Regions from separate parts of the Homo sapiens genome. Here region 1 is linked to region 2. The links are contacts of gene promoters, found by promoter capture Hi-C in blood cells and fetal thymus (Javierre and others, 2016). All regions are on one chromosome and are shown on one strand. The core of a region is centred on a gene start or on the middle of the fragment in contact, and the rest is flanking DNA. Distances in the headings are between cores, read along the strand shown. Region 1 overlaps TXNL1 (thioredoxin like 1). Region 2 holds the start of NARS1 (asparaginyl-tRNA synthetase 1).

Evidence for each region. Contacts are between HindIII fragments. The CHiCAGO score rates a contact against its expected background, and 5 or more counts as called.
Region 1: a contact is called between a fragment that was not itself captured here and the fragment with the promoter of NARS1 in region 2, in 5 of 17 cell types (naive CD4 T cells, non-activated CD4 T cells, total CD4 T cells and 2 more). The highest score is 8.4, in naive CD4 T cells.

Annotation. Positions count from the first base shown.
Region 1 is chr18:56,619,909-56,625,486 of GRCh38, reverse strand. It overlaps TXNL1 (thioredoxin like 1), which reads left to right. Exons shown (of 8, transcript NM_004786.3): 3 at 1,026-1,199. Among named protein-coding and RNA genes, the nearest start is that of TXNL1, 16 kb to the left of the region's middle. The HindIII fragment of the contact is 7,096 bases long and covers 412-5,578 here.
Region 2 is chr18:57,617,695-57,623,567 of GRCh38, reverse strand. NARS1 (asparaginyl-tRNA synthetase 1) reads left to right here and starts at 1,732. Exons shown (of 14, transcript NM_004539.4): 1 at 1,732-1,860; 2 at 2,917-2,999. The coding sequence starts at 1,851. RefSeq lists enhancers at 1,459-1,798, 1,179-1,883. The HindIII fragment of the contact is 17,897 bases long and covers 1-5,873 here.

The sequences.
Region 1 (5,578 bases), core at 2,710-5,209, 1.0 Mb after region 2:
TGTGACAAATTCATATTGATATGTACGGAAAGTATAAAATACAGATCAGATTTTAAAGACAGTATAAAAAATGTAAAATATTGCATTATCTTTTTATGTTGATTAGATTGAAAATGGATATATTAGATTTCCTGTAATATTAAACTTGATTTTACTTATTTTGCTTTTTTAATATAGATAATAGAAAATTTACAATTGCATGTGTAGCTCACATGTGCTACATATCCATTGTTTTGGGCAGCACTTTCCTGAAAGGTCATAGTTTTTTCACCTAGAGGCTTTGAGAAGACATTCCTGTGTTATCTTTATGTTCTTTTTCTTTAAAAAGTATAGTAGTGACTTTCATAATATTTGAATATATAAGGTGCCATATTTGCTTTACTGTTTCCTTTATACTTGTCATGAAAAGCTTAAACTAGGATACTCGGTGGTTATTAGGTAATTTCCATTCAGTAGTTAGTCTTATACAATTGTGGAGCTAGGACAGAATTTATAAAGATAGCTGTTAGAATGTGTTTTGATGGGTGACCAAAAGTCATTTCTGTAAGAATAAAAATTGGGTGACGGTTGCAGTGCAAAATACATTACATGCTCTTTTTAACAGGCAGATTGGCTACCGGTTTTCAGACCTGCACTTTTTTCTAGTAGCAGTGGTTTGTGTTGACTTTATCAATACCCTTCTTGGTTATTCTTTTTGAGAAATACCTGTAATTATGAAAGATCTGTCTGGCATTAAGCACAGTTTCTGCATTGGAAGCTAATTTTTCTACTGGATGATGTATTTACCAGTAAAAATGATAAAAACATGGGGAATGTTCTTTATTGTGTGTGTGATGGTAATGTAGCTATGCCCAAAGGGGAACTCTCTTAGGAATAGGTCTATTTTTTCCTTAAATAACAAAAATGCAGTATTTTACATGTTTTTAGTTCATGCTTATGGTATTTAACTTCCATAAAGGTGTAGAATGAATATTCAAAGTGGTTTAAGATTTAATTCATAACACTGTCCAACTTGCCAATTCTAGGGAACAGCTGCCACCAACAATATATCAGCAACACCTACATTTTTGTTTTTTCGAAACAAAGTGAGAATTGATCAATATCAAGGAGCAGATGCTGTGGGATTAGAAGAAAAAATCAAGCAGCACTTAGAAAATGACCCTGGAAGCAATGAGGACACAGATATTCCAAAAGGCTATGTATGTAGACTGAAAAGTGAAATCATAATGTATAATATCTTGTACATGTCATTATTGGGCTAAAATGAAATATAACTATGTTTCCATCTTCTATCTCTTACTGGTTTAGAATACTTTTAAATAAGAGCTTTCAAATTTATTAGCTGACTATTGAGTTTTGTCTGTATGTGTACGTTTGTGTGTGTGTTAAGCCTCTATCATAAATCATTTTTCCTAAATTTCTCCTAATTTTCTTTGCCACTTTTTAAAAATCTGCTTTCTGAACTATTTTAATAGCCATTTAAAAATACTTGCTTTATACTTTTTTTTCCAGAAAATGTAGAAATGTGCATTAGAAATTTTTTTTTCACTTTTTGACAGTTATGTAAAATGACTTACAGGTTTTAGTTATGGCCATTAACTCCTTTTACTGTCACTCACTTCCTATAGTTTTATCTTTTTAAATGTATGCCCTCTTTTCTGGCACTGTATTTAAAAAAAAAAAAAAGTCTAATTACTGATTTTGTTTTAGAATCAAATTTGACTTTGTTATCACATGTATTCTAGGTTTTAAGAGTAAGTTATTTCAAATAACAACATAAAGACTTAAGAATCTAAAGGATAGTGTGTGGAAACTGCAGAGTATAAATAGTTAGAATGCAGCATTTTTAATTTGAGAGCTATTCAAGAAGGAAGCAAAATTTGGAAGTAGCACTTCATGGTATTAGATTTGCTTATACAAATAGGTAAATCTTGTATACTAAGAGATATATATAGTTTTTAATTTCTCTGGTTACAAAGTTACTGCACTGGCAGATCAAAGAATGAATTTTAAAAAAAGTTACCTCAAGTTAAAGTTAATATCTTTTTTTTTTTTTTTTTTGAGGCGGAGTCCCTCTGTCACCCAGGCTGGAGTGCAGTGGCACGATCTCAGCTCACTGCAACCTCCACCTCCAGGGTTCAAGCTATTCTCCTGCCTCAGCCTCCCCAGTAGCTGGGATTACAGGCACCTGCCACCATGCCCAGCTAATTTTTGTATTTTTCGTAGAGACGAGGTTTCACCATGTTGGCCAGGCTGGTCTCGAACTCCTGACCTCAGGTGATCCACCTGCCTTGGCCTCCCCCAAAGTGTTGGGATTACAGGCGTGAGCCACTGCACCTAGCCAAAGCTAATATCTTAAACAATGTATAACAGGCATATTAAAGCAGATCTGTGTCATGGAGCTACAAGTCCTCCCTGTAAGTCTAAATTCATGCCGAATGAAGAGATGCTATAGTCCAAAAAAAAAAATGAGAGATTCTTTCTATATGGGTGTGTAGTAGGAGATTGTAAGGGTGTCAGAAAGCATCAGTAATGTGATACCAGCATTAATTTAAGGAAGTACAATTACTATTTATTTAAAATAGACCTGTAATTTGAAATTGTAATGTCCAATTAGGAAGTATCAACATATCGTTTATGTCAGGGTTGTTACATCTTTTGGACAGTTTTGGAAATCATTTAACTTGTAAACCATTGTGTTTATATCTTTGTATTTTTTTCCCTTTATTACTAAGGGTGTTTGCATTAAAAAGTCTTAGGAACACAGCAGTCTTGTTGCCTAGCTACAGGCATACTTCTTTACACATCCGCTGTGGTATGAGTGTTTTGGCCTCAGATAGGAAATAGGAAAAAATGAAGTTTTAAGAAATAAAAATTTAGTTTTTGTGCAAATGTTATGGATAAAATATGAAAAGCTGTTATTTTTAAATGTCCCTTTTTTTCTGTCAGGTGTCAATCAAGACATTAAAGTTTTGAACTATTTAGGTCTCACAGGGTTATTCAGTATTTAAATTTGGTAATCTTATATAACGATGATACCATTATAACTCCCAAGAAATTTAATATTGATACAATATTTCTAATTATCCTACAGTTAAATTTTCTTAATTATCCCCAAAATATTCTTTATGGCTGTTTCCCACCATTTAGGATCAAATCAAGGATCATGCATTGCATTTAAGTTGTCCTAATTAATGTTCTTTAGTCTAGAAACTTTTCTCTGCCTTTTTTTTCTGTCATGGTTTTCCATTTTGAAAGTCTAAACCAGCACTGGTCTAGTAATATGGTAGCCACTAGGCACACTTGTCTATTGAACATTTTGTTATATGACTAGTGCAACTGAGGAACTTAATATTTAATTTTATCTAATTTTAATTAATTTAATTTTAAATTGCCACATGTGGCTAATGAGTATCATATTGAATAGCATGGGTCTAGGCTGTTTTATTTAATTAATTTTTTTTTTTTTTTTTTTTGAGATGGAGTTTCACACTTTTGTCTAGGCTGGCGTGAAGTGGCATGATCTGCAACCTCCACCGTCCCCCTGGCCCCTGCCCCTGCCGCTCGTTTGAAGCAGTTCTGCCTCGGGCTCCCAAGTAGCTGGGATTATAGGTGCCCACCACCACACCCAGCTACTTTTTGTATTTTTAGTAGAGAGGGGGTTTCACCATGTTGGCCAGGCTGGTCTCAAACTCCTGACCTCAGGTGATCCACCTGTCTCAGCCTCCCAAAGTGCTAGGATTACACGTGTGAGCCACTGCACCTAGCTAGGATATCTGTTTTATAGACTGTTGCGTATTCTGGATTAACCTGATTATTTTCCCATGATTGGCATGTTGATTATAAAGGTAGCAACATTTATTTCTCATTGCAGGTTTTCAGAATATGTCAGTTTCCAGTTATGTCAACTATGCAATGTAATAATGCCAGTTTGTCCCAGACAGTTTTTATAACAAAATACTTTAATGCACCCCTTTAAATATGTTTTGTGGGCTGGGCGTGTGGTGGCTCACGCCTGTAATCCCAGCACTTTGGGAGGCTGAGGCGGGTGGATCACCTGAGGTCAGGAGTTCAAGACCAGCCTGGCCAACATCAGAAACCCCATCTCTACCAAAAATACAAAAATTAGCCAGGTGCAGTGGCACACTGCTGTAGTCCCAGCAACTCGGGAGGCTGAAGCAGAATTGCAGGAGGCGGAGGTTGCATTGAGCCAAGATTGCGCCACTGCAACTCCAGCCTGGGCAACAGAGGGAGACTTTGTTTCAAAAAAAAAAAAAAAAAATACATATATATGTTTTGTGTGCCCCACAATAAATAAAAACAAAAACTATTTAGAAGAATTTACCCACTTAGTTTATTTTTATCATTTAGGTATTGCAAGTCTGACTGTAATGTTGTCTTAATCCTAGATACCATATTGAAGTGACATATAGATAGGATGGAAGACAAAAACATTTTAAAGATTTTGTCAAAACTGCCCTTTTAAGGCAAATGTTCATAATGCTCCGAATAATTCTGCTATAGTAAAACTTTGCTCTGTAGCCCTTTTTTCTTCCCTCCCCATCTTTTAAATTGGCTATACGTTACCCTGAGTAATACATTTACTATAACATTTCAGCTTTGAAAGCATTTAGGCTGTTTTATCTGTAACTAGAGGTCTATACTAATGATTATTACCATTTTCATATTTACTTGACATACAAAGTTTTCTTCAGTCTTTGAGAATTATGTATGTATGTATTTGTATCTTTAAAAAACATAATGAAAACCCTTTGAGATAGAGAGGTGAACATGTGACTCATCTATAATACTTGGTAGACTTGAAAAGTAATCCTTGTTTAGGAGATAAAATGGATACTTTTCTAGAAAAATACACTTTTACCAAAATCAACTCTACTAGAAGCAGAACACCTAAATAGACCAGCACCATAGAGAAATAGAAGAAATAGTAGTAAAGATTTCTTCCCTAAAGGCTTCTATGACTTTACAGGTAAATGTTGCCAAATCCGTATAAAGATCAGGTAATCTACTGTTACTGTAACTACTTAAGATCTTAAGTAAAAAGAAAACTTTTAAATTTATTTTTGAACTGTGACATTGATCTGATAATTTGACAAAGTATGCACCAAAAAAGAAAGCTGCAGACCAGTTTCAATTATGAATATTGATGTAAAATTTTTAAATAAAGTGTTAGTAAACAAAATTCAATAATATCATCATGGGCTGGGTGTGGTGGCTCATGCCTGTAATCCCAGCACTTTGGGAGGCTGAGGTGGGTAGATCACTTGAGGCCAGGAGTTGGAGACCAGCCTGGCCATTGTGAAAGCCCATCTCTACTAAAAATACAAAAAGTAGCCAGACATGGTGGCACACGCCTGTAATCCCAGCTACTCAGGAGACTGAAGCAGGAGAATCACTTGAACCCGGGAGGTGGAGGTTTCAGTGAGCCAAGATAACACCACTGTACTCCAGCCTGGGCGACAGAGTGAGAATGTCTCAAAAAAATAATAATAATAATAATAACAAAATTGAGTTTTTTTAAAGCATGTAAGAGTTGTTTATGTTAGGAAATTTACTT
Region 2 (5,873 bases), core at 483-2,982:
ACAATCATGAGCCACTGTGCCCGGACTTGGTTCATATTCTTGATGGGCCCTGAACCTATATATAGAGTTATTTTTTTGAGGACCTCTCATAAAAAAAAGGTTTTCTTTTGCTTCAGGGACAAACTCTGGTATTCCACTAAATTGAGAATGGGCTGGGCGTGGTAGCTCACGCCTGTAAGACCAGCACTTTGGGAGGCTGAGGCAGGAGGATCACTTGATCCCAGAAGTTGGAGACCAGCCTGGGCGACACAGGGAGACCCCTCCCCCATCTCCACAAAAATAAAAATAAAATAAGCCAGGCGTGGTGGCGTGCACCTATAGTCCCAGCTACTTGGGAGGCTTAAGTGGGAGGCTCACTTGAGCCCAGGAGTTCGAGGCTGCCGTGAGCTATGATAGCACCACTGCACTCCAGCCTGAGCAACAGAGAAGACCCAGTCTCCAAAAAAAAAAAAAGCCCACCAAAAAAGTAAAAAAAAGTTGAAAATGATGACAGACCCTTTATTAGCACCTCTTACATGCCCGGGCAGTGAATTTATATCATCTTTCACAAATAGAAAAACTGAAGCTCATTCAGATTAGGTAATTTATCTGAAGACACAGATAAACCCCTCTCAGCGCCTGACTCTCGGCGCAATCGGGATGTTTCGCAGCGGGGCAGGGGCAGGGGCCGGAGCCACCGCCATCGCAGCCCGGGGAACAACGGACTCGGGGAAGCCCGGCCTGGCCCTTCAAGTCCCGGGCCCAGCAAGGGCCAGGACCCTCCCTCCCTCCCTGCAATCGGTCCCAACTCGCTGAATGAAGCTCATTCAGTTTAGGTAATTTATCTGAAGACACACGGTTAGTAAAAGGCAGAACCCAGGTTTGTATTCCGAAGCCCTCGTTCTTTCCACCACATTATTATGGCCTTCCTAACGGTAATCCTTACAATTTTAAATGAACATATACCATAGCTCCTCTCCTGAACACCGAGGGACGCTGGCTCACGGAGTTTAGAAAGTTAACGCATCTGGCCGGGCGCGATGGCTCACGCCTGTAATCCCAGCACTTTGGGAGGCCGAGGTGGGCGGATCACAAGGTCAGGAGTTCGAGACCAGCTTGACTAAGATGGTGAAACCCCGTCTTTACTAAAAATACAAAAATTAGCTGGGCATGGTGGCACAGGCCTGTAATCCCAGCTACTCGGGAGGCTGAGGCAGAAGAATCGCTTGAACCCGGGAGGTGGAGGGTGCGGTGAGCCGAGATCGCGCCACTGCACTCCAGCCTGGGTGACAGAGCGAGACTCCGTCTCAAAAAAAAAAAAAAAAAAAAGGAAGTTTACGCAACCCGCTGCGTCCCCTCCACCGCCGCGCACCCCGTCTCGCAGCTGGCGCGGTGTTTGCTGGTGACATGAACTCAACCAGCCTCCACCATCTGGGGATCGGGGCGACATCCTTGGTCTGGTTTGCAAGAGGACCCGCACGCCTCCAGCTGGGGCGGAATTGGAAGATTCAGAAAGGAAAGTTGGGGAGGCGGGGAAGGAAGGGTGCAAAAGTGACACTGTGCCAGGGTCTCCAGGGCCGCGGAGCTCCGGGACAGGCAGCGCCTTCCGAGCTGCACAAACGCGTGGGGCGGGGCGTCTCTGGATCCGGAAGTTGCCTCTGCCCTCACCAAAGATGGCGGCCCCGGCGCCGCTCGCCCACCTCTCGTAACCAATGGAACCGCGGCGCTCGGCCGATTCTCGCAGGCGCCCTCAGATCTACGCTCTCTGATGCAACGCCGGAATCGCGGAAACCGCCGGTGCACGTTGGAGTCATAAGACGGCGTCGGTGTTGCAGTCTGTGTCCTTGGAGGTGACCAGGGCCACTGCAGGCATGGTGCTAGGTGGGTGAGACTCAGTGTATGGCGCGGTGTTCCCTGCCTGGGGCAGGAACTCTGCTCCAGTCGGGTTTCGGCGCTTTCCTTAGTGCCTACCAGAGTGGGCGCCCCGCGAATGTTTGGGGACCGATTGCAGGGAGGGAGGGAGGGAGGGTGCTGGCCTTTGCTGGGCCCGGGACTTGAAGGGCCAGGCCGGGCTTCCCCGAGTCCGTCGTTCCCCCGGGCTGCGATGGCGGTGGCTCCGGGCCCTTCCCCTGCCCCGCTGCGAAACCTCCCGATTGCGCTGAGACTCAGGCGCTGGGACGGGTTCAGACACAGGGTAGCCCCTACTCCTGCAGTTCTTCAAAGTGATCGTCAGGAAGGGGCTTTAGGATTCTAGTTGTTTTTCTCCCACCCTCATTTTTTTATTGAGGTTTCCGGGGAGACCATACTGTGCAGTAGGAAAAAAAAAAAAAAAAAGAGAGAGACCTGGATGGATGTTAACTGTTCAGACCTACTAGTTGTGAGGCCTTCTGAAATTTTCTAACCTCAGAGCTTCTGTTTCCTTTAAAGTCCAGAGGGAGCTGGTGTTTATTTGCCATCTCTACAAAAACTGGCACTGGGATATCTGATTTGTATGTGTTATTTTATTTCATCCTCAGCACAGCCTTTCAAGATGGGGATTGTTTTTCCTATTTTATAGGTAAAGAAATAAGCTCAGAAAGGTTAAGTAAATTCTCCAGAGTCACCCTGCCTTTTAAGGTACAAAATCCAACATTCCAGCGTATGTCTGATCAACTTCAAAGCCCATATTTTATTTTTGGGTGCCCAATTAGATAGAATAAATATCACAAATTAAAATGATCAGAGTTCATTTTGAAAACCTGGATTATTAACTAATGTTTTTATGAGATGGATGTTATTGAAATGGAGTGGGGAAATAACTAGGATATTAATTACTTATGGACCTCAATTTTTATTAATCGATGCTTGTTCTGTTTACAAAGATAAGGAATGAATAAAGTAGTAAGGTGACTAATAGTTAATGGCCAGACCATAACTTACCCTCATTTTGTCAAACAGCAGAGCTGTACGTCTCTGACCGAGAGGGAAGCGATGCCACGGGAGATGGAACCAAGGAGAAACCATTTAAAACAGGTCTAAAGGTAGAGTCTCTTCTCATTAGGAAAATGAGACTGCATTTATTAATGAGTTATGTCAATTTTCTTGTGACTTGCCAAGAACTTAATTTCAAACACTAGGTTCCAAAGAGAATTTTCAGAAAAGGGAAAGTAAGGAATGCATACAGATATGTGACTTTAAGATTGTTAGATGATCAAAGTCTAAACTTACTTTTTAACATTTTGAAAAAAGGTCTCTTCTTTCTTACCACATGGCATTGCTTCTTGGAATTTTTCTCTCCATTGAGTCAGATTGCTGGGTTTTCAATTCTTGTAAAGATAAAAGTTACCTTTCCTCAGTTACAGTGAGCTCATGACCAGGGGGCTCCTGAGAGGGCTTTTGGTGAATTTACCACAATCCAGAGTGTGATCCTGAGATTTGACTCCAAGACCACCAAGAATGGATTCATTTGTCAGAGCTGACTCATGAGTCTGGAGCTTCAAGCTAGAATGCCAATTTATTAACATTCTGTTAATGAATTAACAGTGCTGTTATTTCTCAGGATCTAGAATCCTTGAATGAGTTTAGCTCATTCTCAAAGGGGTTTGTCAAGAGCTTGGACTCAGGCCTGGTGTGGTGGCTCACGCCTATAATCTCAACACTTTGGGAGGCCGGGGCAGGTGGATTGCTTCAGCGCAGGAGTTTGAGACCAGCTTGGGCAACTTGGTGAAATCCTGGCTCTACAAAAAACATAAAAATTAGCCCAGCATGGTGGTGCGTGCCTGTGGTCCCAGCTACTCCGGAGACTGAGGTGAGGATTTCTTTAGCCTGGAAGGTGGAGGTTGCAGTGAGCCACCATTGCGCCACTGCACTCTAGCCTGAGACCCTGTCTCAGAAGAAAAAACAAAAAAAGGGCTTGGACTCACAACATGGGTGTTAGGTAGTTGATTATATCAGAGTAAAGTGTGGCCTAAGACAACCTTCTTAAAATAGACCATGGACTTAGCTGTTGAACTCATATGCTAGAATCCATTGGCTATAACTGCCACATAAGGAAGATGGTTAAAAGTTCCTTCCTTGGGTCTGGGCTTTGGTGCCTCACGTTTGTAATCCCAGCACTTTGGGAGGCTGAGGCTGGAGGACTGCTTGAGCCCAGGAGTTTGAGAACAGCCTGGGCAACATGATAAGACCCTCATCTCTACAAAAAATTTAACTTCTTAAAAATTTTTTAATAAATTTAATTTAAAAAATAAATAGAGACAGGATATTAACCCTCCCAAAGTGCTGGGTTTATAGGAGTGAGCCATCACACTCAGCCAACTACCAAAAAAAAAAAAAAAAAAAAATTAGCCAGGCATGGTGGTATGGTATGCACCTGTGGCCCCAGCTACTCGGGAGACTGAGATAGGGGGATTACTTGAGCCCAGGAGGTTGAGGCTGCAGTGAGCCGTGATTGCATCACTGCTCTGCAGCCTGGACGACAACAACAAAAAAGTTCCTTCTTTGAACTGTATTAGGAAAAGCAGTGCCTTGACACTCCTTTTTCTGTGCATCCCCTTTTTTTGTTAACTGTGTTACAACATTTATAGTTACTATCAAGTCCTAATCTGGGAGCATTCTCCTCTCTTTTAGGTCATACCATATGGTTATAAACTTTGGTGTGTCATACATGGGTACTTGTTTTTAATTTAACTTATTTATTTATTTTTCTGAGACAGGATCTTAATTTGTTGCCCAGGCTGGAGTGCAGTAGCGCATTCATGGCTCACTGCAGCTTCAACCTCCTGGGCTTAAGGGATCCTCCCACCTCAGCCTTCCAAGTAGCTCGGACCACAGGGGCATGTCACCACACGCGGTTAATTTGTTTCTTATTTGTAGATACGAGATCTCATTATGTTTCCCAGGCTGGTCTTAAACTCCTGGGCTTAAGCAATCCTGCTGCCTTGGCCTCCCAAAGTGCTGGGGCTACAGGTGTGAGCCGCCACTCCTGGCTGGGTTTTACTTTTTAACCACTCTTAAGGGGAAATCTTTCATTTCTGGATTATCGGGTGCCTCGTTTTGCAGCTCCTGAAAACTGACAACACCGTTTAGATGAACGTTTGCAGAATGTCACTGTTAACAACAGAATGTCACTGTTAACAAAAGTGTAGCATTCTGATTTGGGAACTGATAGTTTGGCTCTTTCAATTTCAATGATACAAAAGGAGGGATCAGTACAGATTGTCGGGTAATAAGTGAATTCCGAACGACCTACATGTATTCATGGGACCTTCTCTCTTGGTTTTGCATTTTCATCAATGGCTATCTTTTTTTTTTTTTTTTTGAGACAGAGTTTTGTTCTTGTTGCCCAGGCTGGAGTGCAGTGGCATGATCTCGGCTCACTGCAACCTCTGCCTTCTGGGTTCAAGCAATTCTCCCTGCCTCAGCGTCCTGAGTAGCTGGGATTATAGGCACTCGCCACCATGCCTGGCTAATTTCTTTTTTTTTTTTTTATTTCTAGTAGAGATGGTGTTTCACCGTGTTGGCCAGGCTGGTCTCGAACTCTTGAGCTCAGGTGATCCACTCACCTCGGCCTCCTAAAGTGCTGGGATTACAGGCGTGTGCCACTGCGCCTGGCCCCTACATGTATTCTTACAATGTCTAGTTGTTAAAAGGATGAACTATTGAATGTTTTCTTTTTTTTCTTTTTTTTTTTTTTGAAAAGGAGTCTCACACTGTCACCCAGGCTGGAGTGCAGTGGTGCAATCTCAGCTCACTGCAACCTCTGCCTCCCGGATTCAAGAGATTCTTCTGCCTCAGCCTCCCGAGTAGCTGGGACCACAGGCGTGTGCCACCACACCTGGCCAATTTTTGTATTTTTAGTAGAGACAGGGTTTCATCATATTGGCCAGGCTGGTCTCGAACTCCTGACCTCATGA